Linked DNA regions of Homo sapiens: all the other regions are linked to region 5. The links are contacts of gene promoters, found by promoter capture Hi-C in human tissues and cell types (Jung and others, 2019). All regions are on one chromosome and are shown on one strand. Each heading gives the region's core, a stretch centred on a gene start or on the middle of the fragment in contact. The rest is flanking DNA. Distances are from core to core; before and after follow the strand shown. Region 1 has its middle 4.1 kb from the start of BUB1B. Region 2 overlaps BUB1B (BUB1 mitotic checkpoint serine/threonine kinase B). Region 3 holds the start of PAK6 (p21 (RAC1) activated kinase 6). Region 4 overlaps BUB1B (BUB1 mitotic checkpoint serine/threonine kinase B). Region 5 holds the start of KNSTRN (kinetochore localized astrin (SPAG5) binding protein). Region 6 overlaps CCDC32 (coiled-coil domain containing 32). Region 7 overlaps BUB1B (BUB1 mitotic checkpoint serine/threonine kinase B).

The links. Contacts are between HindIII fragments. The study calls those that stand out against the background at their distance.
Region 1: a fragment that was not itself captured here is called in contact with the fragment with the promoter of KNSTRN in region 5 in 2 of the 25 tissues and cell types used here (H1 embryonic stem cells and IMR-90 fibroblasts).
Region 2: a fragment that was not itself captured here is called in contact with the fragment with the promoter of KNSTRN in region 5 in 3 of the 25 tissues and cell types used here (IMR-90 fibroblasts, bladder and mesenchymal stem cells).
Region 3: a contact is called between a fragment that was not itself captured here and the fragment with the promoter of KNSTRN in region 5, in 1 of the 25 tissues and cell types used here (aorta).
Region 4: a fragment that was not itself captured here is called in contact with the fragment with the promoter of KNSTRN in region 5 in 3 of the 25 tissues and cell types used here (bladder, mesenchymal stem cells and ovary).
Region 6: a contact is called between a fragment that was not itself captured here and the fragment with the promoter of KNSTRN in region 5, in 1 of the 25 tissues and cell types used here (IMR-90 fibroblasts).
Region 7: a fragment that was not itself captured here is called in contact with the fragment with the promoter of KNSTRN in region 5 in 2 of the 25 tissues and cell types used here (liver and mesenchymal stem cells).

What each region holds. Positions count from the first base shown.
Region 1 is chr15:40,155,310-40,158,584 of GRCh38, reverse strand. No RefSeq gene overlaps it. Among named protein-coding and RNA genes, the nearest start is that of BUB1B, 4.1 kb to the left of the region's middle. RefSeq lists an enhancer at 256-1,116. The HindIII fragment of the contact is 5,307 bases long and covers 1-3,275 here.
Region 2 is chr15:40,200,154-40,203,365 of GRCh38, reverse strand. It overlaps BUB1B (BUB1 mitotic checkpoint serine/threonine kinase B), which reads right to left. Exons shown (of 23, transcript NM_001211.6): 11 at 3,007-3,122; 12 at 2,386-2,435; 13 at 901-961; 14 at 672-777. The region is part of intron 1 of LOC107984763 (a long non-coding RNA gene); the gene reads left to right. Among named protein-coding and RNA genes, the nearest start is that of BUB1B-PAK6, 16 kb to the left of the region's middle. The HindIII fragment of the contact is 3,067 bases long and covers 57-3,123 here.
Region 3 is chr15:40,238,636-40,241,909 of GRCh38, reverse strand. The region is part of intron 1 of BUB1B-PAK6 (BUB1B-PAK6 readthrough); the gene reads right to left. PAK6 (p21 (RAC1) activated kinase 6) reads right to left here and starts at 2,847. Exons shown (of 11, transcript NM_001395430.1): 1 at 2,108-2,847; 2 at 1,229-1,311. It overlaps LOC107984763 (a long non-coding RNA gene), which reads left to right and starts at 2,209. Exons shown (of 3, transcript XR_001751506.2): 1 at 2,209-2,425. The HindIII fragment of the contact is 8,776 bases long and covers 1-3,274 here.
Region 4 is chr15:40,218,101-40,221,368 of GRCh38, reverse strand. BUB1B (BUB1 mitotic checkpoint serine/threonine kinase B) reads right to left here. Exons shown (of 23, transcript NM_001211.6): 22 at 2,807-2,913; 23 at 246-805. The coding sequence ends at 610. All of the region lies in intron 1 of BUB1B-PAK6 (BUB1B-PAK6 readthrough), which reads right to left. All of the region lies in intron 1 of LOC107984763 (a long non-coding RNA gene), which reads left to right. Among named protein-coding and RNA genes, the nearest start is that of BUB1B-PAK6, 2.3 kb to the right of the region's middle. The HindIII fragment of the contact is 3,322 bases long and covers 1-3,188 here.
Region 5 is chr15:40,381,308-40,384,249 of GRCh38, reverse strand. KNSTRN (kinetochore localized astrin (SPAG5) binding protein) reads right to left here and starts at 1,529. Exons shown (of 9, transcript NM_033286.4): 1 at 1,206-1,529; 2 at 928-1,022. The coding sequence starts at 1,414. RefSeq lists enhancers at 451-972, 1,038-1,207, 973-1,496, 1,456-1,525, 2,151-2,651. The HindIII fragment of the contact is 15,043 bases long and covers 1-2,942 here.
Region 6 is chr15:40,549,928-40,553,220 of GRCh38, reverse strand. It overlaps CCDC32 (coiled-coil domain containing 32), which reads left to right. Exons shown (of 4, transcript NM_001080792.4): 4 at 1-122. Among named protein-coding and RNA genes, the nearest start is that of CCDC32, 13 kb to the left of the region's middle. The HindIII fragment of the contact is 4,888 bases long and covers 1-3,293 here.
Region 7 is chr15:40,182,598-40,185,704 of GRCh38, reverse strand. It overlaps BUB1B (BUB1 mitotic checkpoint serine/threonine kinase B), which reads right to left. Exons shown (of 23, transcript NM_001211.6): 6 at 1,822-1,991; 7 at 326-540; 8 at 63-154. All of the region lies in intron 1 of LOC107984763 (a long non-coding RNA gene), which reads left to right. Among named protein-coding and RNA genes, the nearest start is that of BUB1B, 23 kb to the right of the region's middle. The HindIII fragment of the contact is 4,788 bases long and covers 1-3,107 here.

The DNA of each region.
Region 1 (3,275 bases), core at 277-2,776, 230 kb after region 5:
CCCCACAGTGGACACCAGCAGAAGCAAGATGTCCTCCAGTAGCCTTGGAGACAGAGGCCATCAACCAGAGAGAGCTTGAGCAGGACAGGAGGAACATGGCAGATGCTCTGAAAACACCCAGACCACCTAGGGAAGGCTTCAAAAGGAGGGACTCATTCAGTGCCACACATACAGTTGCATAAATATTGCTGCATCCGAGAGTGCCTGTCACGCAAATGGGGACATTTTTCTGCTTTTTCTACTCAGAGAAGGCACCTTCAAAAGTGCCCAGAGAGGCCTCCTCTCTCTAATTCACACAAAGCCCTGTGTGCAGCGGCCCTGGGGCCCTATGGAAGAGCCAATGGGATTCTCCTGACTAGTGCATGTGACTCCATAGGTCTGAGGCCTGAGGAAATGGGTTACATAATGTTCTGTCCTTATTTCAGGAGGTGACAATTCTAAGATAGCTGAATGGGGGTAGGGATGGCTCCTGGCAGAGCCAATCCATTGTGGGGACACTTGCAGGAGAATGGAGTGTCTGTGGGTGGATATGTCTGAGCCGCCATTGCTTTTCTGCCAGGCAGGCTTCCTCACTTCCTCTCTGACATTGCCTCCTGGGTCTTGGTGCAAACTGTGGAAAGTTTGCTTCTTCCCTTCTCGGGGGCCCAGCTGGGAGCTACTCCTGCAGATCTGGACTCTGCATTGCTTTTCCAAAGAAAGGCCAGAGGTCAGAGGCCCCCAGGCTGGGAGGGGCCAAATGATTGGAAACAACTTAACTTCGCTGAATGTGGGAACTAAGTTGGCTACAGCTAGGTGCGAGAAGATTGTTAGAATTAAGAGAGGTGACAGCTGTTTTACCTCTTTCCCATCTCTGCCTTCTTCTCTAAAGGCTGTCCTTTTAAAGTTTTACCTGGAGGTGTGGGTCCCAGTCAGAATTGGCCAACATTCTCCCTTTAAAACAACCTTAGGAGACTGAGGGCCAGTGGGAAACTTGAATTTGGGACCCGCCCAGAGCAACTTTGGAGGAACTCTTTATGTTTTAGAATTTCAGGCTCACCTCTGGGATGATTGAACATACCAAAGATGAGAACCCCAGCCTCTTTTTTGAGATGCAGTCTCACTCTCTCACCCAGGCTGAAGTGCAGTGGCACAATCTCTGCTCACTGCAACCTCCACCTCCCAGGTTCAAGCGATCTTCCTGCCTCATCCTCCCATGTAGCTGGGACTATAGGCGCCTGGCTAATTTTTGTATTTTTAGTAGAGACTGGGTTTCACCATGTTGGCCAGACTGGTCTTGAACTCCTGACCTCAGGTGATCTGCCTGCCTCGACCTCCCAAAGTGCAGGGATTACAGGCATGAGCCATCGTGCCTGGCCAACCCCAGCCTCTTGAGCCAAGACAACCACAAGCTTCCGCTCTCCATGTAGGTCTTTGACACTTGTTGCTCTGAGGCATTTCAGTGCCTTTCTTCCAACACGGGCTCCCAAGCTAAAGCAGGGAGAACAGAATCCAGACAAGCAGAGTTAGAAACATCATCTCCTAACAGCCAAAGATGGCATGGAGGGCTGCAAACCTCTCTGGATCTATCTGAGCCTATTTCTAGTTTTCCGTCCAAACCCTTTGTAAGGAGCTATTGACATGGTTTGGATGTTTGTCCTCTCCAAATCTCGCATAGAAAGAGGCTTCTCCATTGTTGGAGATGGGGCCTGAAGGAAGGTGTTTGGATCCTGGGGCAGATCCCTTATGAATGTCTTAGTACCATCCCCTTGGTGAATGGTGAGTTCTCATTCTGAGTTCACCTGAGATCTGGTCGTTAAAAGTATGTGGTACGCCCCTTTCTCTCTCTTGCTCCTTCTTCATCTTCCACCAGAAGTAAAAGCTCCTTGTGGCCTCCGTCACCAGAAGCCAAGCAGATGCTGGCGCCATGCTTCCTGTGCAGCCTGCAGAATCTCTAGCTAATTAAACCTCTTTTCTTTATAAATTACCCAGCCTCAGGTATTTCTTGAGAGCAATGCAAAAATGGCCTAACACAGCTATAGAAGGCAGTGGGCATTCCAAGAGAAAAGGCTTTTTTTTTTCTTGCTAGCTCTGGTTCCCTTTGTTGTCAATGAGGAAGATGTGGCATTTGAGAGGCTGACTACTGCCAGCTGTGGGATGTGTGCCTGGAACAGACTCCCAACAATGAATATGAGTTACCTATGGCAGCTGACATGAGGAAGACCCCACTACACAGACGAGCATGAGAGAGGCCCATCCGTCTACCCACAGGCTGCGCCTTCCTCCTCAGTGGTAAACAAAGATATTGGACCAGTTGACCTCTTTCTAGCAGTCAAAGGCTCCAGTTAGCCTTGTTTTCTTCACTGGTGTAGAAAAGCTATGAGAATATGGGTTCTAACTCTTCATCCCTAGGACCTGGCCCGAGGCAGGTACTCAATCAATACTGGTTAACTGACTGATTGACAGTAATGAACAAAAGAGAATAGCTAGCACATGACCTTGTTGGACCAAGCACTCTAGGATGTCCACCATTCATTTGACAAACATTTCTTGAATATTTTGTGTCGGGTGCTGTGCCAGGCACCAGAGATATAAATATGAAAAAAGCACCAGTCTTATGCTCAAGAAAAACAAAACAATCTATGATATAACAGCTTATGAGCTATAGCCCCAGCAGGAGCCTGGAGTTAGGGGAACTTGAAAGAGGATGGGGGCCCTCCCACACCCAAGCATGGGGGCTGAGAGAACAAGAGAAAGGGAGGTTGGGATTGCTGCCAAGAGGGGTCTTTAAAAATGAGTAGGAGTTACTAAAAAGAGAGAAGGGGCTTTCCAGGTGGAGAGAATAGCACAGGAAGGACTAGGAGGCAGGAGAGTGAGAGTGCATTCGGCATCTGGGGAAGTGCAGGTGGTTGCAATGGCAGGAGCCTAGGAGAGTTGTGAGGACCTGAAATGAGACCCTGACTCACTGTGCCTGACAAGCAGCAGGTGGGGAGCAAACCCAGCCCCTTCAGTTTTGAGCCCAGGGCGGGCATCCAGCTGCATTGTCAAAGCAGGGGCTTATCCCACTGAGCTCTCAAGTTTCCCAGCTGTGGAACCACCTATTCCTCCCACTTCTGGGAAGGGCCTGCAGGTGAGAAGGGGGTGGGGCACAGAATGGGCACCTCACCCACCTGTATGCATTTCCTTCCTCTCCCCAGACAGGCTCTGGGATGCCAAACTGTTTTCAATCATTGGCTTTATTCTAATGAGCCCGTTAAGGCTGCCAGGACTCAGGGGGAACCGGCCCAGCTGGTCTGACT
Region 2 (3,212 bases), core at 341-2,840, 180 kb after region 5:
ATCCATGACACTTTTGCCTATTCTGGATATTTCATGAAAATTAGATCATATAGTATGTGGTCTTTGTATCTGGCTTCATTCACTTGACATAACGTTTTCAAGGTTCATCTATGTTGTGACAGGTATTAGTACTTCATTCCTTTTTGTTGCCAAATAATATTTCATGGTATGGATACATAACATTTTGTTTATCCATTCATCAGTTGATGGACATTTGGGGTTGTTTCCACTATCATGAGTAATACGGCTATGAACATTTGTGTACAAATTTTTTGTATGAACATGTGTTTTCAATTATTTTGAGTATATACCTGGGCAGAGATCTGCAGGATCATATGGTAACTGTGTTTAACATTTTAAAGAGCTGCCAAACTGTTTTCCAAAGTGGCTACACCATTTTACATTCCCACCAGTAATGTATGTTCTAATTTCTCCACAATTTTGCCAACACTTGTTACTGTGCGTAATTTTTTATTATAGCTATCCTAGAGGATATAAAGTAGTATCTCACTGTGGTTTTGATTTGCATTTCCCTGTTGAGTAGTAATGCTGAGCATCTTTTCATGTGCTTAATTCAAGTCAGTGGTTTCAATTTTAACCTTAAGCTTTTGTGGTTTTGAATAAACAATCCACTAGCCCATTTACATTAACTTAAGGATACTGCTCCTTACACAAACATCTGGAGACACATCTTCATTTGAGGTGATGCTTTCTGAGGTTTTGAGAACTGCAAGGGGTCTTCGTTGAGCTAAAACTCGTGGGGGATCTGCAGGAGGACTGGAAAAAGACATACCTCACTTAGCAATTTTTTTCATAACAGTAACCCCTAATTTATCCTCACTTATAATAACAGAAAATTCTTAAGTAAAAAAAAACCAAAAAAACAAAAAAACAACGTACCTTTTATTCTTCTTTTCTGAAAGAAGAAACTCATCAAAAATGGAGAAAGGTACACTGGGACCTAGAGAAAGAGAGACTAGATACATACTCTAGGAGTAAATGCTTTACTCTTCAAGACAACCAGATAAATTAATCAATATTTTGTGTTGTTTGAAAGCAGGAAGGCAACCTGTTTTTTTAATAACAAAAAGCTTCAAACATATAAAAGGTCATTAAACAATTTACCAATTACCTAAACTTAGATGATCTTGTTCCATTTAGATTCTCTACCACTGTCACTACTCCCCAAACCCAACCCAACAGGATTATTTTAAAGCAAATTCCAGACATGTCATTTTATCTGCAAATATTTCAGTATATATTTCTAAAAGAGGCTTTTTAAAAATCCCAATCCCAAAACATGATACCTACCTATAAAATGAACAATTTATGAATATATATATAATATCAAATGTCCAGTGAGAAGTTTCATATTTTACCAATTAAAAAAATGTTTTGGCCGGGTGTGGTGGCTCACACCTGTAATCCCAGCACTTTGGGAGGCCATGGTGGGCGGATCACGAGGTCAGGAGATCGAGACCATCCTGGCTAACATGATGAAACCCCGTCTCTACTAAAAATACAAAAAAAAATTAGCCGGGCGTGGTGGTGGGCGCCTGTAGTCCCAGCTAGTCGGGAGGCTGAGGCAAGAGAATGGCATGAACCCAGGAGGCAGAGCTTGTAGTGAGCTGAGATCGCGCCACCGCACTCCAGCCTGGGCGACAGAGCGAGACTCAGTCTCAAAAAAATATTAATAAATAAAAAAAAATTTTTTTAAAGTTTGTTTGAATTGGGAATGCAGAGTTAAGATCCGTATACTGTGACTGTTCAAATGCCTCTTAAATCTCTTTTATTCTATAGAGTTTTGGGGGGAATTTTTGTTGAACAAACTGGGTTGCTAGCCCCATAATGCTGGATTTTGCCAATTCCATCCCGCTGTGTTGTTTAACAACGTTCCTCCATGCTTTATATTTCCAATAAATTGACGGTTAGAAACAGAGGTTTAATTAGATTTTAATGTTTTTTATTTTTATTTTTGCCAAACCATTTACAAGTAGATATTCATGTTTCACCACTTTTAACACATTTTGAAGAAAAGAAAACCAATTTGAGTATAAAATAGCTTTAAATTTTTTTTTCCCTGAAAAGAAACACTTCCCTTAGTGTCTTTGCTGTTTAGTGTACAGTAACTAAAGTATAAGATTTGGTGGTTAGTGTAAATTTAAAATTACAATTAAACCAAATATTTTGAAGCACTGAGGAATCTTTAAAAAAATACTCTTTCAAATGTCTTTCCTATCATAAAGCATATGCTTATACTAAATTCCTAGTATCCTAGTCCCCCTGTCTTTCAATCCCTTTATCATAATTAAAAATATTTACCATTTATTACATAATACATTTGTTATCAGCAAGTTCTTCTCAAGGCTGTCAAATACAACTCACCTTTAGAATGAGGTTGTTCCTGCCAAATGTTCTCCGCAAGTGAAGTTTCTCTGTAAAGAAACTTGTTTTAAATCATGTGCTCAATACCCACAGAAAGAACTGTTTAATTTTTAAAAGTCCAAGAGGCTTTTCCATTAAATATAATATTTACTCTAAGATAAATTATTACTGTCAATTCAAATTCTCTTAAAGAAGATGGAAGCTTTGGTTATCAAAAATGTTGCAGAAATATATTTGATAATAGATGTCAAGTTGCATTAATAGTATAAGCAGATTACAAAATGGTAAGCTGCCATTTTTATAAAACAAAACAAAAATACAACACAAAAGAAGAGACAGAACAGTGTTAATGGTAATCATCTCTTAGTGGTAGAAATGGGTGATTTTGTTTTTTAAAAACAGTATATGTATTTGTTTCTATAAGAAACATGTTTCTTCAGTGGAAAATAGTCAATGCTCTGTCCTCCCTCATCAGCATCAAAGCTTATGTTGTGACAGAGACTTACAAAAACCATGTCTCGATACTGTAAACGTCAAGGAGACTTCAAGGCACTAGAGAGTCAAAGGTTGGTTCTAAATGCCCTCCTATATGCATTGTCCCTTCCACCTATGTAGTCTTACCTGGCACAACAGTTTACTTGACAAACAGAACTGGATAGAGTCATTCCTGGTATTTTCTGAGACTCGGAAGCAATTTGCAGTTTAGTTGTCTCCTTTGTAGGCATCGTCTCTTCTTGCTGTTTGCATTAAATAAACAAAATCAATGTCCCTCCCATCCAGAAAATGCTATTTTCTAGTTCTAACATTAGCTTTACTGTACTCTTTCC
Region 3 (3,274 bases), core at 727-3,226, 140 kb after region 5:
GGTGTGGGAATTCACTGGCATGAGAGACACTTATGGGTTCCTCCTGACTCTGAGCACATGTGCTCCTCCAGGGCAGGGGACTTTTTGGTCATCCTTAGGAGTTGTGCACAGAGCGGGCTTTCCTTGGCTGGAGACCCCACCCACTGCACCCTCCCTGTGTCTGGCAAGTCCGGGAGGGCCCAGAGCACTCACAAAGCATCAGTTTGTCCTCGGGGCACTGGAGAGGCCGTGCAGTCCCCACACTCCCCCTCTCAGGTGCACAGAGCTTCCATCCAAATCAGCTGCTCCCAGAAGGGCTTGCCTCTGGTGCCGACCCTTCCCTGACCAGGCGCTCTGTCACTAGGGCTCCCAGGTGCCACCTCCAAGCCTGGGCCAGGACAACCGCCAGGGAAGCCTGCCTGCAGAGGGGACTCCTTGCTTGCCCCAAAGGCCTCAACCCCAGCTAGATGAGCTCCCGTGGGGCTGAGTCCCAGGCCCACCAGGCCTGGGGGCCACACGGCTCCTAAGCTCATCCTCTCCTCCTGCAGCCCAGTTCCCACCAGAACCAGCCTCAGGAAGACCCCAGGCAGAACGGCACAAACCTCTTGGTGTACAATGCCAGGGAAAGGATAACTGGAGACCACAAGACGTTAGCCTTGCTTCCCGGTGGGGCCCAGTGCTTTATAAACCCGAGCTCACTGGGCCCGATGTCCCCAAAGCTGACCAGGTCATCCACCCTGCAGCAGGGGTGGGGAGACCAAGGCCTGTGAGGAGTGACCGTGCTTGGCCAGGCAGCTCCCTGAACCTGCCCTGATGCTGAGTTTCAGAGTCAGAATCTGTGCCAGGTCAAACCCAGCCAAAGGGTGTGACTTGGAGCCTGGGACCCAGCAGTGCTCCCTAAATATTTGTGGAATGAATACACAAGGGAAATGTCCCAGAGGTGGTAAAGTGAGAGGGGCCTTGGATAGGGGTGTCCCGGTGGCACTGGCTTGGCCCAGCTGGGGCAGGAAGAGTAGAAACAAGCACCTCTCCCTCTAGCTAGGGAGCCAGAGACCAGCTGGGATTGGACTGTTTCACAATCAATCTGGAAAGAAGGTGGCAGGCCGGGTGGGGAGTGGAGCCCCTTGACCCAGGAACCCACAGCTGTGGAGTTAGCCTCCCTGTCCCAGGTGGGAGGCAGCCTGGACACCTTGGCACCCCCGTCCCTAGCCCAGGAATCCGGAGCACGCAGCGGCAGTGGGGACCTTACCGTGGCTGCTCCTTCTGGGCAGCGGGGTCCTGCGTTCTCCACTGCAGGCTGGTGCTTGTCTCTAGCCCAGGAAGCGGCACTCCCTTCAGGCAAAATAGAAAAAAAAAAAAAAAAAAAAAGGAAAAGAAAACCTCAGTGCTTTTCTCACCCAGCCTCTTCTCTTGAAGGCTCCTGGTTGGTATTGTCCTGCCACTGTGGGCACACAGCCTCCCTCCCTCTGGCAGCTTACTCACTGGTGCCCGCAAAGCTGCCAGCTGTGTGGGGGAGAAGGGACCTCCCCCCTCCTCCTGACACACACTGGGGCATGCCCTGTGGGGACCAGGGGCTTGAGGGTGGCACCCGCTGGGTCCTGATCATGGGGAAGCCGTACCCTGGCCAGCACCCTTCTCACTGAATGTGTCCCTGTGAGCTCAGCAGAGACGCACATGGGTGCTGACTGGCCCTGCATAAGAGAGTGACATGGTTCTTGGTAGGAAGCTGTTTCCTTGGTACCCAGGCCTGCCAGAATGAAGGGGCAGCTGATGGGCTGTCCAGCCCCCCAGTGATGGGCTCTCACCCTGGCCAGCCCCTCCGGACGGCTTCCTACCTGGGCATCTTGCTGTGTCTCTGTCCTGTGCACCCAGACAGGGCCTGGGCCTGCCGGGGCTGGCAGCTGCTCCTCACCCTGCTCAGGCCGTGTGTCTGGCGTCCCCTCTCCCTGACGCCCATCTCAGGGCCTGCGCCCACCCAGCATCAGTTAGGATAAACTCCTGTCAAGCCCCCAGCCAGCTCTCTGCTGGACCCAGCTGCTGTCCCCAGCAGGGGGACGGCACACACACTGGCTTACACACTCTCGCACTCACACACACGTGGGTCCACACCCAACACAGAGCCACCTACCTGCCCAGGCCAGCCTAAGCCAATCCAGCCTCGCTCTCCAAATGCCACTCCGACCCCAGAAGCCACTCCTTTACCGAAACATCCCCGTGGGAGATGAGTTCAGAGCCAGCCCGGGAGGACTCCAGTCAGCTCGGACAAGACTGCCCTTCTGTCCCAACACCTCCAGAGGACACACACAGGCAGCCTGACCACCATATCTGCTATTGCACTCTGCCTGCTGCCACAGCCCCCCGGGCACTTCTGGCCCCCACAGCGTCTTCCATATCTTTAGGGGGTGGCAGCAGACTCACAGCAAGTCCCATCTTCCTGGAGCCCAAGGTAGGGAGGGGAGAGCTAGAAGGGGCGGGACTCAGGTGCAGCTCCAAGTTTCCAGCTCCCAAAATAATCAGATGCAAAGGAGAAGCAAGAACAGCTCGAGGCGGGCGGTGACTCAGTGCTAGTGGGCCGGCTTAGTCACCTGGATGGCTGCTGGCGGCTCCTGGCACATCAGGACGGGAGCAGCGCCCTCCCCCACCTGCCTGGACCGTGGCTGTCTCCAGAGTGTGGCCGCCGAGCCCCGCGCCCAGGGCTGCCTGGCAGGCGAGGCCGCTCCACCCCGCTCCCGCCCATCAGGGCCCAGCGGCCCCGGCTGCGGCGCGCCCCTCCTCCACCGCGCGCCCCGGCTCACTTTGGGATTTCTCCATTAAATCCTCAGGCATCGACCTGCTCGTTTGGGGCGCCGAGCTGCTCCAACGTTGCTTGGCAATTTTGATATCGTCGGGGGTTGCCATGGGGAGGAAGGTGATGTCATTGACACAAAAAACCCACTGAATTTACAAATCAGCTGGGGCTGGAGCTATTTATAAAAACACGTTTTTATCTGCCTTTCTTTGCTGAAGGGGAGGAGGAGGAAGGGCTGCCTGCCGGGCTCAGGGTGAGCCTCCCTGCTGTCCTTCCTACCCTTGCCCTAGAGAAGCCAGACCTCCTTGGCTCACCCCCACCCCCACCCCCCAGAACTTGGAGCTGCGCATTCAGATCTGGCAGGTGCTGGTCTCAGCTGGTTTTGCTTCGAAGGCTGAGAGTGGCACATGGGATGTAAGGCAGGGTGGGTGCTGGCTTCCTGGGCTGGCAGGGACCAGAAACCAGTTACTCAACCGGGTCCCTTTATTTCATTGCCCCTGGTCAGAA
Region 4 (3,268 bases), core at 278-2,777, 160 kb after region 5:
CACTTGAAATTGAAGGATATTTGGTCTTATGCATATCATCTTACCTACTTTTCAGTCTAGACCACTTATTGGAAGGTCAGACCCACCTAAAGAAATAGTTGGCTACTCTGTCTCATCACAACCCTATTGTAACAATTCGAAGTCTAGGATATATAAATTTCCATGGCAAAATAGTTCATCTCTGCAAAGTTAAGCCATCTGTTATTTTAGTTTGCAAAAACTACATGACATGTTAGAAGCACAAATTTAACAGATACTATTTTATTATTTACAAAATACATGGTGATCATAAGAGAACATTTTACAAATTACAAATGGGAAAAGTACAGGGAAAAGTAGAGACAAATGGGTTAAATAACAAGGTAACCATTTGTAATGAGTCTGTTTAGAATAAAATAGTTCTTCACAAAAGTTAGACAAGGCCATGAGTAAGTATATCACTGTATAAAAAATATCAGTGACGTCAAAATATACCTGTACCAAAAAGTAGAACAGCAATGGTAGTGCATCTAAATGTGTCCTAAATTAAATTACAGCACATACAGTTTCAGTGTTCCACAATACAACCATTGCTCTGAGGCAGCAATCTGTGAGACTTGATTGCCTAGCTCACTGAAAGAGCAAAGCCCCAGGACTAGTTAACTTCCCTACCTTCCATAAGGCTTTGTTCAGGTGACTTTGGAATGTAGTGTCAAAAACCCCATTCATTTCTGCTGCAAGCTCCCCAAGAACAGACACTGTGGCCTCATCATTGGCATTCAGAATCCGCACAAAGAATTTATTCCACAATTCACCATCTTTTAGCCTAAAAATATATAAAACCATTTCCATCAAGATTAGGCATATGAAAATTATAATTCCTTTTAGTTTAACTCAGTGGTACATTTATGCACCAAAATGGTGTAAGGTAATACCTAGAACTCTAGGGTTAGAGATCATTCAAATAGTCCTTTGAAAGCCCAGGGAAGAACTACAAAAAAGGGCTACCATAGTGGGAAAAGCCAAGATACAATGCACATAAAGGGAAAGAAGATCTCTCATCTAAATCTATAAATTTCCTCTGTGTACTAAGACATAGCACTTTTCTTCTACAAATAGAAGAAAAAGGAATTTTATTTCCTCTAACTTTCCTAGAGTCTAGGTCATTAAAAAGGCTACAGCTCCTTTCTCCTACCCCAGTAGTGGATCTTCTTTACAATTCTCTGATAATCGTAAGCTTGACTAAACTAACTACTGCTTAATATGTTTGTACCTTTGCTTCTTATTATTTTCTTTTGATCAGAGAAACTTCCCTTATTAGATAAGGCAGGGCTGTTAGGAAACCCCAACTGACCCCACTTGTTTCTGCTTGTGTTAGCCAGACCTGCCTGGACCATAGCCAAGTGGACATGCCTATATCCATCCTATATGTCTTACATTGTATTTCAAGCCTATTTTTAAAAGTTCATGTAAGAGACAACACTGGCCAAGTTCTGAATTAAATGAAGAGAAAAGTACAATTCAATTATTCAAAGATGAAAATAGAGAAGGGGCATTAAATCTTCAACACTCATTTTTTTTTTTAACCAAAGAATATAACAATAGGTGACAGGCTGGGAACTTATTTGCTAAGATAAGCTAAAGTGGAACGTAGATACTTAGTTTTTTTTGAGACGGAGTCTCACTCTGTTGCCCTGGGTGGAGTGCAGTGGCGCGATCTCAGCTCACTGCAACCTCTGCCTCCCAGGTTCAAGTGATTCCCGTGCCTCAGCTTCCCAAGTAGCTAGGATTACAGGCATGTGCCACCACACCCAGCTAATTTTCTTGTATTTTGAGTAGAGACAAGGTTTCGCCATGTTGCCCAGGCTGCTCTCAAACTCCTGACCTCAGGTAATCTGCCTCGGCCTCCCAAAGTGCTGTGATTACAGGTGTGAGCCACCATGCCCGGCTGACTTAGTAAGTTTTATGAGCAGGCTTGAGGGAGTACTAAGGTTCTGAGACCAAGCAGTGCTTATTAAGAGACCACTTACTTCTTCTCCAGGAGAGTCAGTTATCTGGTTTGGTTCTATCCACTTATTAAATAAAAAATAGCCTAAAATTAGCATATAGTTTAGAAATGTAAGTCTTTTCAAAGGATGCTTATTAACTTTTGGTAATAATTGCTATTAAAAAGGAATTTAGGCCAGACACGGTGGCTCACACCTGTAATCCTAGCACTTTGGGAGGCCGAGGCGGGCGGATCACAAGGTCAGGAGTTCGAGATCAGCCTGGCCAACGTAGTGAAACCGCATCTCTACTAAAAATACAAAAATGAGCCAGGCATGGTGGCGCACGCCTGTAATCCCAGCTACTCAGGAGGCTGAAGCAGGAGAATCACTTGAACCTGGGAGGCAGAGGTTGCAGTGAGCCGAGATCATGCCACTGCACTCCAGCCTGGGCAACAGAGCGAGACTCCGTCTCAAAAAATAAATAAATAAAGAAAAAGGAATTTAAGGCTAACACCAATTAGTTAGAAAATTATTCTCATGAAATGCTTCTTTTCACATATCTAAACAGGGAAGCTTCCATACTATAGCTGTAGTCTGGAAGATACAGCTAGATTCAGAATGATGTCCTGAAGTCTGAATAGTTTTGAATCTTATTTTTAGTAAGCAGTTCCTTTTTCCTGCACTAGCTGCTCTGCTGATACTCTAATGAAAACTGGCTGAAACTACTGGAACCATGGCATTTGGATTAAAAAACTAAGGCTGCCAAAGCAGAGATAGCACCCAAGAGAAACAGAAAATTATTGGGACAGGCAGAGACCCTGACATTCATCAATACTTACTCAGAAATATTTTGGCTAAGTTTCCAGAAGGACCCATCCCAGAAGACCTGTAGGTGTTCCTTGAACAATAGTAAATGTGCTAAATCTGCTATACCAAACAGGTCTACCTGAAATCACAAAAAGCACCATCAGCTAAAATAATTCTCTGCCTCTACCATGGCAGCTTATTTCGGTAGGAAGTTGAAAGGTATTACAGTGCTTAACTAAGTTTATTTTATGACATACATTTTAGTAGACTGTTCCTCACCCTTACAGTAAAGGGAGAAGCTCTCCAAAGAAGTGATCAATAGAGCCAATTCTAGGAATTATCCTTAAGAACAAAAGATGAAATATTTGGACTATCACATTCAAATTTGTAGACCTACTGAGTTTGCATGAACTCCAGCTGTGATCTAAATGGGGTCCACATGATTAGTTCAGGTTTGTGCTACATATTCAATCAGCAAATGTCTTATGTCTAAA
Region 5 (2,942 bases), core at 280-2,779:
GGCGCCCGCCACCACGCCCGGCTAAGTTTTTGTATTTTTTAGTAGAGACGGTGCTTCACCGTGTTAGCCAGGATGGTCTCCATCTCCTGACCTCGTGATCTGCCCACCTCGCCCTCCCAAAGTGCTGGGATTACAGGCGTGAGCCACCGTGCCTGGCCACTTCAGCGCTCCATCTTGCCAAGGTTTATGTACCAGCTGAGTGGAATCATCTGGGAAGGGATCATAAATAGCTACTCCATAATCTCCCACAACAGTTTTCTGATGTCTGAAGCTTACTCTGTACTATAATCTCTAGATTAGGCAGTTCCCCGACTGCAGACCCCATGAGATGACTTTCAACCACAAGCAAAGCAACACAAAGCAGATGGCAAAGCAATTAAAAACTATTTTTAATCATGTCTCTCTCTTCGCCCAAGTTTCTCAAATACTGTGCCTAGGTCTAACCCCTCTCTCCCACTTCACTCAACAAACGTGTATTGAGAATGTGGTAATGAGAAACACGGTGCAGATATAAAGGTGAACAAAGAACCCTAAGTATCCCACTTCTCAAATGATTCTCCTCTTTCCTCCCTGAAAACAAACCCAATCCCTCAAGATAGCCCAAGTCTGGAAATAAGACGATAACCGATTAGAAGGGGATTCCTAGCTTAATGGGAATAACATTGTACAATAACCAACAACTTGAATCTAACTGATGAATACAGTACACATGCGGGCAGAAAAGTGCAGAGCACGTCTAAAATCCTACCACATGGTCCTTCCCTTAACTCCCATCATAAACCTACATAGCCTGGTTATAGGGGGCTCACAGGTTTTCAGGGCCGACGGGACGCCCTTCCCCGTGCCCGCGCCACCCATTCGATCTCCACACTCCCGAGACCATCCCCGGCCAGGCCGCAGTGCCCCGGGCGTGGCTTGGACCCTCACCTGCCGGCTGGCCGCCGCTCAGCGCAGAGGGGGGCTGCAGGCTATACACTGTCTTAACCACACTGGTCATCGTAACGAGGCGGCACGGCTGAACCCTGGAAGGTACAGGATGAATGTTACCCAGCGCTGGGCCACTGGGCCCGAGAGAGTGGAGGGCCCGGGGATAGCGCGACCCGACAGGCCCCGGCTCGGGGTTGGAAAAGAGAAAATCCTCCTTTCCCAGCTCATTCCGTCCTTCCTCCCATCCAGCCCAGTCCCTCGCCCCGGGAGAGCCGAACCCAGGAGCCCGCCGGTCCTGCCCGCAGTCCTTCTCGCTCTCGTTTAAAAGATTCCCTGCAGCAACTGTCGTGCCACCGGCTAAGTCGGCCGCCTGGGTTTCAAATAGAAACTTCCGGTAGCTAGGCGGAAGTGGGTGGGAATCGCACTCTGTAGACAGCCATGTTGTACGGAAAACTCTGTCCAGGGGCGGGGCTTCGGGAGCCGCCATACTGTACGGAAGGTTCGCTCAGAGGCCAGAGCCAGACCTAGCGAAAGGTGTTGGAGCCCCCAGGTCTGGGCAGAGGAGGAGGGTGATGCAATTTGTAGGCTTGAATGGAGCTAATGAGCTACCAGCGTCATATTCCGGGATGGAGACGCAAACGTGGCGACATTTAGGGTCCATGTCACAATCCTCTTTATTTAGTTTGGGATTGTTAGGGATATTGCCAGGAGCACAGGTTATTTGGATGAAAACTACACGTTACAGGTGGAGAGTGGCAGGTGAGGCTTGAAGAAAAGGACCTATGGGCTGAGATACCTGAGGCACCTACCTGAGGTCCTAATTTTAATAGCACTTATCCAGATTTTCAGTAGTGATTCAAAGCTACTCCCAATAAACAGGGTAGCTTCCATTACTAAATGCACTAGCTCATTCATTTCATCTGGCATTTATTGAGTACCTGCTGATTACCCAACAGTGTTCTCAGTGGGTGGAAGGGAGTGAGGGAGGGCAAATATCAAGATTGACCTTGGCTCTGCCCTCCTGGAGTTTACAACTTAGAAAACAGACAGTGAACAAATAATCACATAAATAAATATATATTTACGGATTGTGGTGAAATTGTGAAGAAGGCTGGGCACAGTGGCTCACAGCTGTAATTATAGCACTTTGGGAGGTGGAGGCGGGTGAATTGCTTGAGTCCAGGAGTTTGAGACCACCCTGGGCGACATGGTGCAACCCCGTCTCTACAAAAAATACAGAAATTAGCCAGGTGTCGTGGCATGCTCCTGTAGTCCCAGCTACCCTGGAGGCTGAGGTGGGGGAATTATGTGACCCTGGGCGGGGCAGAGGTTGCAGTGAGCGGAGATCGCGCCACTGCACTTCACCCTGGGTGACAGAGCGTGATCTCAAAAATCAAACCAAAACACACACACTATGAAGAAAAAGTACAAAATCGTATAAGATAGAAAAGCAGGGAAACTTAGATTATATTGGGGGCTCAGGGAAGACCTCTCTGAGATGATGTTTGATTAAGGAAGGAGAGGGAGTTAATTTCATTGGGGAAAGGGGAAAATGCAAAGTCCCAAGGCAGAAATGGGTTCTTCTATAGGCACAGAAAGATAGGAAGAGAGTGGTACAGATAAAGCTGGAGAAATAAGCAGTCAAAAGACAGATTTTACAGGCCAAGGTATAGAGATTAGATTTTATCTAAAAGTAATGGAAAGCCACTGAAGTATTATAGCAGGAGAGTGTCATCCAATTTATATTTTATTTTATTTTATTATTATTTTTTGAGACAGGGTCTCACTCTGTTGCCCAGGCTGGAGTGCAATCATAGTTCACTGCAACCTTGAACTCCTGGGCTCAGGAGATCCTCCCACCTCGGCCTCCTGAGTAGCTAAGACTAAAGGTGCCTGCCACCAGACCCAGCTAATTTTTGTAGAGATGGGGTCCTGCTATGATGCCCAGGCTGGTCTTAAACCCCTGGCCTCAAATGATCCTCCCACTTCAGCCTCCCAAAGTGTTGGAATTACAG
Region 6 (3,293 bases), core at 192-2,691, 170 kb before region 5:
ACTCCTGGATAGTTCCAAACATCTTCCTTGTGGCAGGTTTCCTGGCTGAGCCCGAGCTTCCCTCCCTGTTTATTGTGTTCATGATCAGTATGTGTTTCCATATAAAACTTTTCTCAACGGAATAGCAGTGTCTGTGGTGCTGTTGACTCGATTGCTCCTGGAAGGATGTTCCCAGGCAGCAGGAGGTAAAGACAAATGCATGCAAAGGCATGGGAGCTGGCCACTTTGCCAGCCTCCTGTTATTAGCATGTGCCCTCAGACAGTCCAGACTTTGGTGTTCTGAGGCCTTAGCTCCATGGGCCTTCTTCCTGGGTAATAGTTTACAAATCCCTAAAGATCAGTAGGGTGGCTGTAAAAATCTTCCGATCGAGAGAGGAGCTAAAAGAAAAAATAGAATAAATAAATCTTCTGAGAACATTTGCTTTTTTTTTTTTTTTTTTTTTTTTTTTGAGGTCGCACTTTGTTGCCCAGGCTGGAGTGCAATGGTACAATCATATAGTTCACTGTAACCTCAAACTCCTGAGCTCAGGTGATCCTCCCACCTCAGCCTCCTGAGTAGTTGGAATTACAGGTGCAAACCACTACACCCGGCTATTGTTTGCTCATTTCTAAATCAAGTATTTGTCTTGCCCAAAAGGATAGGAACCAATTAGGTGGTTCCATATACTTGCTTAGTGATACAAATATTTTTATTGTAATATTCAAATATACTTTCCTCTTTTTTTTTTTTTTTTTTTTTGAGATGGAGTTTTGCCCTTGTTGCCCAGGCTCGAGTGCAATGGCGCGATCTTGGCTCCCCGCAACCTCTGCCTCCCGGGTTCAAGCAATTCTCCTGCTTCAGCCTCCTGAGTAGCTGGGATTACAGGCATGCACCACCACGCCCGGCTAATTTTGTATTTTTTTTAGTAGATTTGGGGTTTCTCCATGTTGAGGCTGGTCTCGAACTCCTGACCTCAGGTGATCTGCCCGCCTCAGCCTCCCAAAGTGCTGGGATTACACGCATGAGCCACCGCGCCTGGCCGCTCCTCTTTTTTCCTTCTTTATTTTTTTTTTGTTTTTTTGAGACAAGGTCTCCTCACTCTATCACCCAAGCTGGAGTGTAGTGACAATCATGGCTCACTACAGCCTCAACCTCCCAGGCTCAATCCATCCTTCTGCCTCAGCTTCCCCTGAGTAGCTGGGACTATAGGCATGTGCCACTATGCCTGGCTAATTTTTAAAAAAAATTTTTGTAGAGACAGGGTCGCATTATTTTGCCCAGGTTAGTCTCGAACCTCTGGGCTCAAGCTATCCTTCCACCTTGGCCTCTCAAAGTGCTGGGATTACAGGTGCAAGTCACCATGCCTGGCCCTTTCCTCTCTTTTCATTGACTAATGGTTAACCTTTTTTTTTTTTTTTTTTTTTTTTTTTTGAGACAGGGTCTCACTCTATCACCAGGAGGGCTGGAGGGCAGTGGCACGGTCTCAGCTCACTGCAGTCTTGACCTCCTGGGCTCAGGTGATCCTGCCTCAGGCTCCCGAGTATCTGGGACTACAGGTGCATACCACCATGCCCAGCTTATTTTTTATATTTTTTGTAGAGATGGGATTTCGCCATGTTGTCTGGACTGGGTTAACACCTTTATTAGTAGATTTAGTCGCTTTATTCCTACTGCATTTTATTGGCAGGATACGTGTGACACAGAGAGTGGCTCTCTGTGGCCCCTGGGTACATTGAGGAAGCCAGAATATTGACGGTCATCCAGGCTTGCAGGCTGCCATCTCCACCTGGAGTTCAGATGCCAGGCCTCACTCCTCTCCAGGGCCATCTGATGGCTTTCAGGATGGATTTTTTTGTTTTGAGATGGAGTCTCACTCTCTTGCCCAGGCTGGAGTGCAGTGGCGCCATCTTGGCTCACTGCAAGCTCTGCCTCCCGGGTTCACACCATTCTCCTGCCTCAGCCTCCCGAGTAGCTGGGACTACAGGCGCCCACCACCACGCCCGGCTAATTTTTTGTATTTTTAGTAGAGACGGGGTTTCACCGTGTTAGCCAGGATGGTCTGGATCTCCTGACCTCATGATCCGCCCGCCTCGGCCTCCCAAAGTGGTGGGATTACAGGCGTCAGCCACCGTGCCCTGCCAGGATGGATTTTTTAAAGAAAGAAAAACTAAAATTTTTATTCTCCCTGCATGATAAACAAACAACAATTATTCTTCCTCAGAAACAACAGTTTAAGAAAAAAAAAGCAATGAGGTCCCAAAACACTCTCCCAAAGTGCAGATCATGGGATGGTAAGAGAATGTTTCTGTACCCGAAAATAGTGTTTCTGTCATTCAGGCAAGATTCTAGCTTTGCCTTTTCCCTACTTCCCATTTTCTACCTCAGAAACAGAAATTGGAATATGAGAGGGTGGAGAATCGCTTTAGAGGAACTGAAACAGAGTTTGTAAGTTGAATGGTTTCTAGCCCATGTGTAAACCTGGGTGCGGTGTGAGAGGAGCTCTGCACGACTCCACGGAAGGGAACCCAGTGAGTTGTAGCTATAGTTTCTTAATTGATTTAGAGGTGACAGCGTAAACAATGGCTCTAAAAAAAGGTGAAACTCCATTTACCAAAACCAAATTTGACACTAGCTCCCAAAGCTAACTTGTTAATACAGATTTATCTTAGGCTAGTGAAGTGGCACTAAATTTGAAACTGAGAGTCTTGGGTGCTGTCTTTTATCTGTCTTGTGGCTTACTGAATGGTCACAAATAAGTCAAGTGACCTCTTCATGTTCCAGTTCCTTTTCAGTAATGGGACTAACCATAGGAAAAAATAGTATTGGCCTAAAATGCTGATCTCTTTCCTTTGACCCTGAAAACTCCAAGGAACTCCAGTTAGGGCTTCCTCAACCTAGTAAGATTTGTAAGTTGGTAGAATCTTACTTATCACCCCTGACTTTCTTCCTTCTTCCTCCTTAGTGAAATAGACAGCAAGTTAGAGCAAATGGAGCAATATTTAGTGCTAAAGCTTTAGAGCCAGGGGAGGGTAATCACCAACACGGGCCAAGCCGTAATGACTTGGTACACCCAGAGAAGGCTGGGCTGCAGCCAGGCAGATAACCTAAGGGACTGCTGCTGTTCTCTCCCGGCACACACACGTGCTCATCACTCAGCGCCTGGCAAGATCAGGGCTGGAGTGACACAGGCATGCATCCAATACCTGATCCAGAAATAGGCCCTGGCTGCAGGCACAGCAAGTAAACAAACGTCCCGCCAGCTGTGGCCGAGGTGCACCCTTCCAAGCAGACCTGCCCACCAGGACCATTGCTG
Region 7 (3,107 bases), core at 48-2,547, 200 kb after region 5:
AATAGGTGCCTCTGCCCACCCTTAATAATTCCCACTTCAAAATATCCAAAAACCACACTCACATAACTGGCTGTCGTGCAGTCTCTTCCACATATGGAGTGAAACTGGGAAGCACAGCGGGTACAGCTATCAGTGAAGCTGTATTGCCACGAGGCTGGAGATGAAGAAGAAAACTAAAATTACCATAGTTTTATGTTCTCAGACAGCATATATAGACCATGGCTAAATATTCAAGAGGAATTAAAAGAGATGGTAAAAATACTTCTCTACCCTAAATGTGAAGTCTTTGTTGTGTCAGCAAAGCACTGGATCTAAGAGTCCTTACCCTGTGTTCCAAGGACCTGCCTGTGTTCCAAGGGCCTGCTTGCAGCTCATTCTCTTTGGCCCTGGGCATGGGGGGTGCTATCCATGGCTGGACTGTAGGCTTAGACAACTCTGCTGTAGAAGCCTCATCAGCATTTTCATCAAAAACAGTAATTCTACTATTATTTTGCATCTGTTGAGGAAATGGATTTTGGAGTCCTCTGTTCTGGCTTGGAGCTAGGAGCAAAAATATTAAAACCTCATGTAAAATGTTTCATTATTAACTTAGATGCCAGATAAAGTATACCTATTCTTCCTCAACTCAAGGACAGTATTTCCACTACAACAGAAAAAAAAAAAGAAATTTTAAAAATAATCTTTAAAAAAATTAATAAATCAAAAATAGAATCGTTTTATCCATTCTTTGTTACTTATATTCTGCCTTCTTTTCCCTCCTCCAGTCACCCCACATCTTTTATTCACAAATTTCCAAAAAAGACATTCTGCATCTTCCTTCAGTCATCATTATAACATTATCTAGTTTTATCAGAAACTAACCTAAGTTTTATTCTTCAGTTTTAAATTTTCTCTCAATGGAAATCAGCAGAGATATACTGGAACTAGAGAATACAAAATTAACCCATTTATTAGGGGTTTTCTCTGTTGTGGGGCTGGTTATTAACCAAGCTTCATCATGATCTGGATGAAATAGCCTTTGGGACCATACACTCCCTATATCCTAATTCTAGAACCACCAAGTAACATTCTGATTATTGATAAATTGATACCAGGAAAGAAATAAGAGATTAAAAAAACAGCCTGGTTTACATGTCTAACTGCTATAAATTTAGTAAATAAAAGCTTATTATTCTCTGTACCTTCTGCTCAATTTTGCTATGAACCTAAAACTACTCTAAAAAATAGTCAGTGTTGTCCAGATGCAGTGGCTCACACCTATAATCCTAGCTACTTGGGAGGCTGAGGCAAAAGAACTGCTTGAGCCTAGGAGTTTGAAGCTGCGGTGAGCTATGATTGCACTACCACGTTTCAGGCAACAGAGCGAGAACCTATCTCTCAAAAAAAAAAAAAGTCCATGTTAATTAAAAAAAATTATTGCTGATCTTTGGGTATATAGAGAGTCTAATTTCTGGTCCCAAAGGGCTCTGAAGGCAGGGTTCTTAACCATATTAGTATCATTCTCTGAGGCTTTGGTATATGTAAGCTTCACTTTAACAACACCTGCTATGTTACTACATATCTTCTTTCAACTAACAATTCAAACTCAGAAAATCTTGATGCTTCCTAAATGTTAGGTCTTTCTTAATTAAGACACAAAATTACTGATGCATTTTGATTTTACTGCACACTGTAATATTAGCTCTCCTTTGACTTCCTTCTTTTTGCTACTCAGTATTCAGCAAACTAGAAGTGTCCACAGGTATATTTATGTATTATCTTCTTACATGATTTTACCACTAGAAACTAACAGTTTTCCGAAATAACGTTTAACAAACTTACCCTTGAGAGCACCTCCTACACGGATGATTGGAGCTCTTGCTGTCTTTTTCCCTTTGCTCTTTAGTTCAGCTAGTGTGCTTCGTTGTGGTACAGAAGACTCAAAAACTTCCTCCTCTTCTTCTTTCTCAAGTGCCAACAGAGTTTGCCGAGACACTCGAGCTTGGAATTGTCTAAAGTAGCAGAATGCACAACTTTTAGTGAGGTGACCACTATTTTACCAGACTCAAAATTTCCAATTTGTTAAAGTAAACAAATTAGAAGAGCAGGCTGGGGGAAGAATGCAGAAATATCCCAAAGAACATGTTTATTCTCTCAGAAGTAAAGAGAGTCACCTTAAGATCATGAAAAGTTTTGGCTAGAATTATTTAACTCTCCCTTTAAATGCCCAAGTTTGACCAATTTAAATTATTCTGAAAATCACCATTAAGTTGATCTGAGGATCAGGTTAGGGTTATTAAGACTAAGATCACAGAGTTTATTAAGATTAGAGTTTTCCCACTAACTTTTTATTAGAAAACTTGACCCACCAATTGTTAACACTGTGCCACATCTATTTTATCACTGTGTCTCTTTTTCTATACACATGCATGCGCGCACGTGCACGCACACACATATACGGTTTCTCCTGACCTATATGAAATGAAGTTGCATATGACATGACATTGTACTTTAGCAAAGCTGGCAGAAGTTTGAAAAGTAAACTTCCTATGCTGCTGCCACAGTTTTAAGTATTATCAGAAGAGATTCTCCATTCCTACCACTGCTTCATTTAACTAGCCTTAAAAAGTATTATCATAAGGGTAAAAAAAACCCCAAAAAACCCAGAATAAATTGCAGGTGTTGGCCAAGATGGAGTATGCCCACTGTACCTTTTCTCTTTCTCTCACTGATAGGAATTAAAAACTATAGACCATATACAAAAAAAGCAACTAACTGAGGGCTCTGAAAAGTCAACAAAAGCAAGCAGACTGTGGAGAGGGGTCAAAACTTGAAGAAACAACCCACGCAGGATTGTTTCCTGTTTTTTTATTCTTCTATTTTCTCTTGTGGTTTTGAACTGTTGCAGTGGTGGTATGTGAATGTAAAACTCAGAGAAACCCCATCTTTCTGGCCTGAGGACTGGGAAAAGAGGACTCTGAAGGCCAAAGAATATGGGAGGAGAACTGCAAAGGAATGAGCTGAACAAGAGGATCTCCTAATTCTGTATGTGAATTGGCATACATCTTAGGTTCCCTCTTGAGCTATGCATGCACAGGGTAGATTCAAAGCAGCACAGAAAAGGCTTT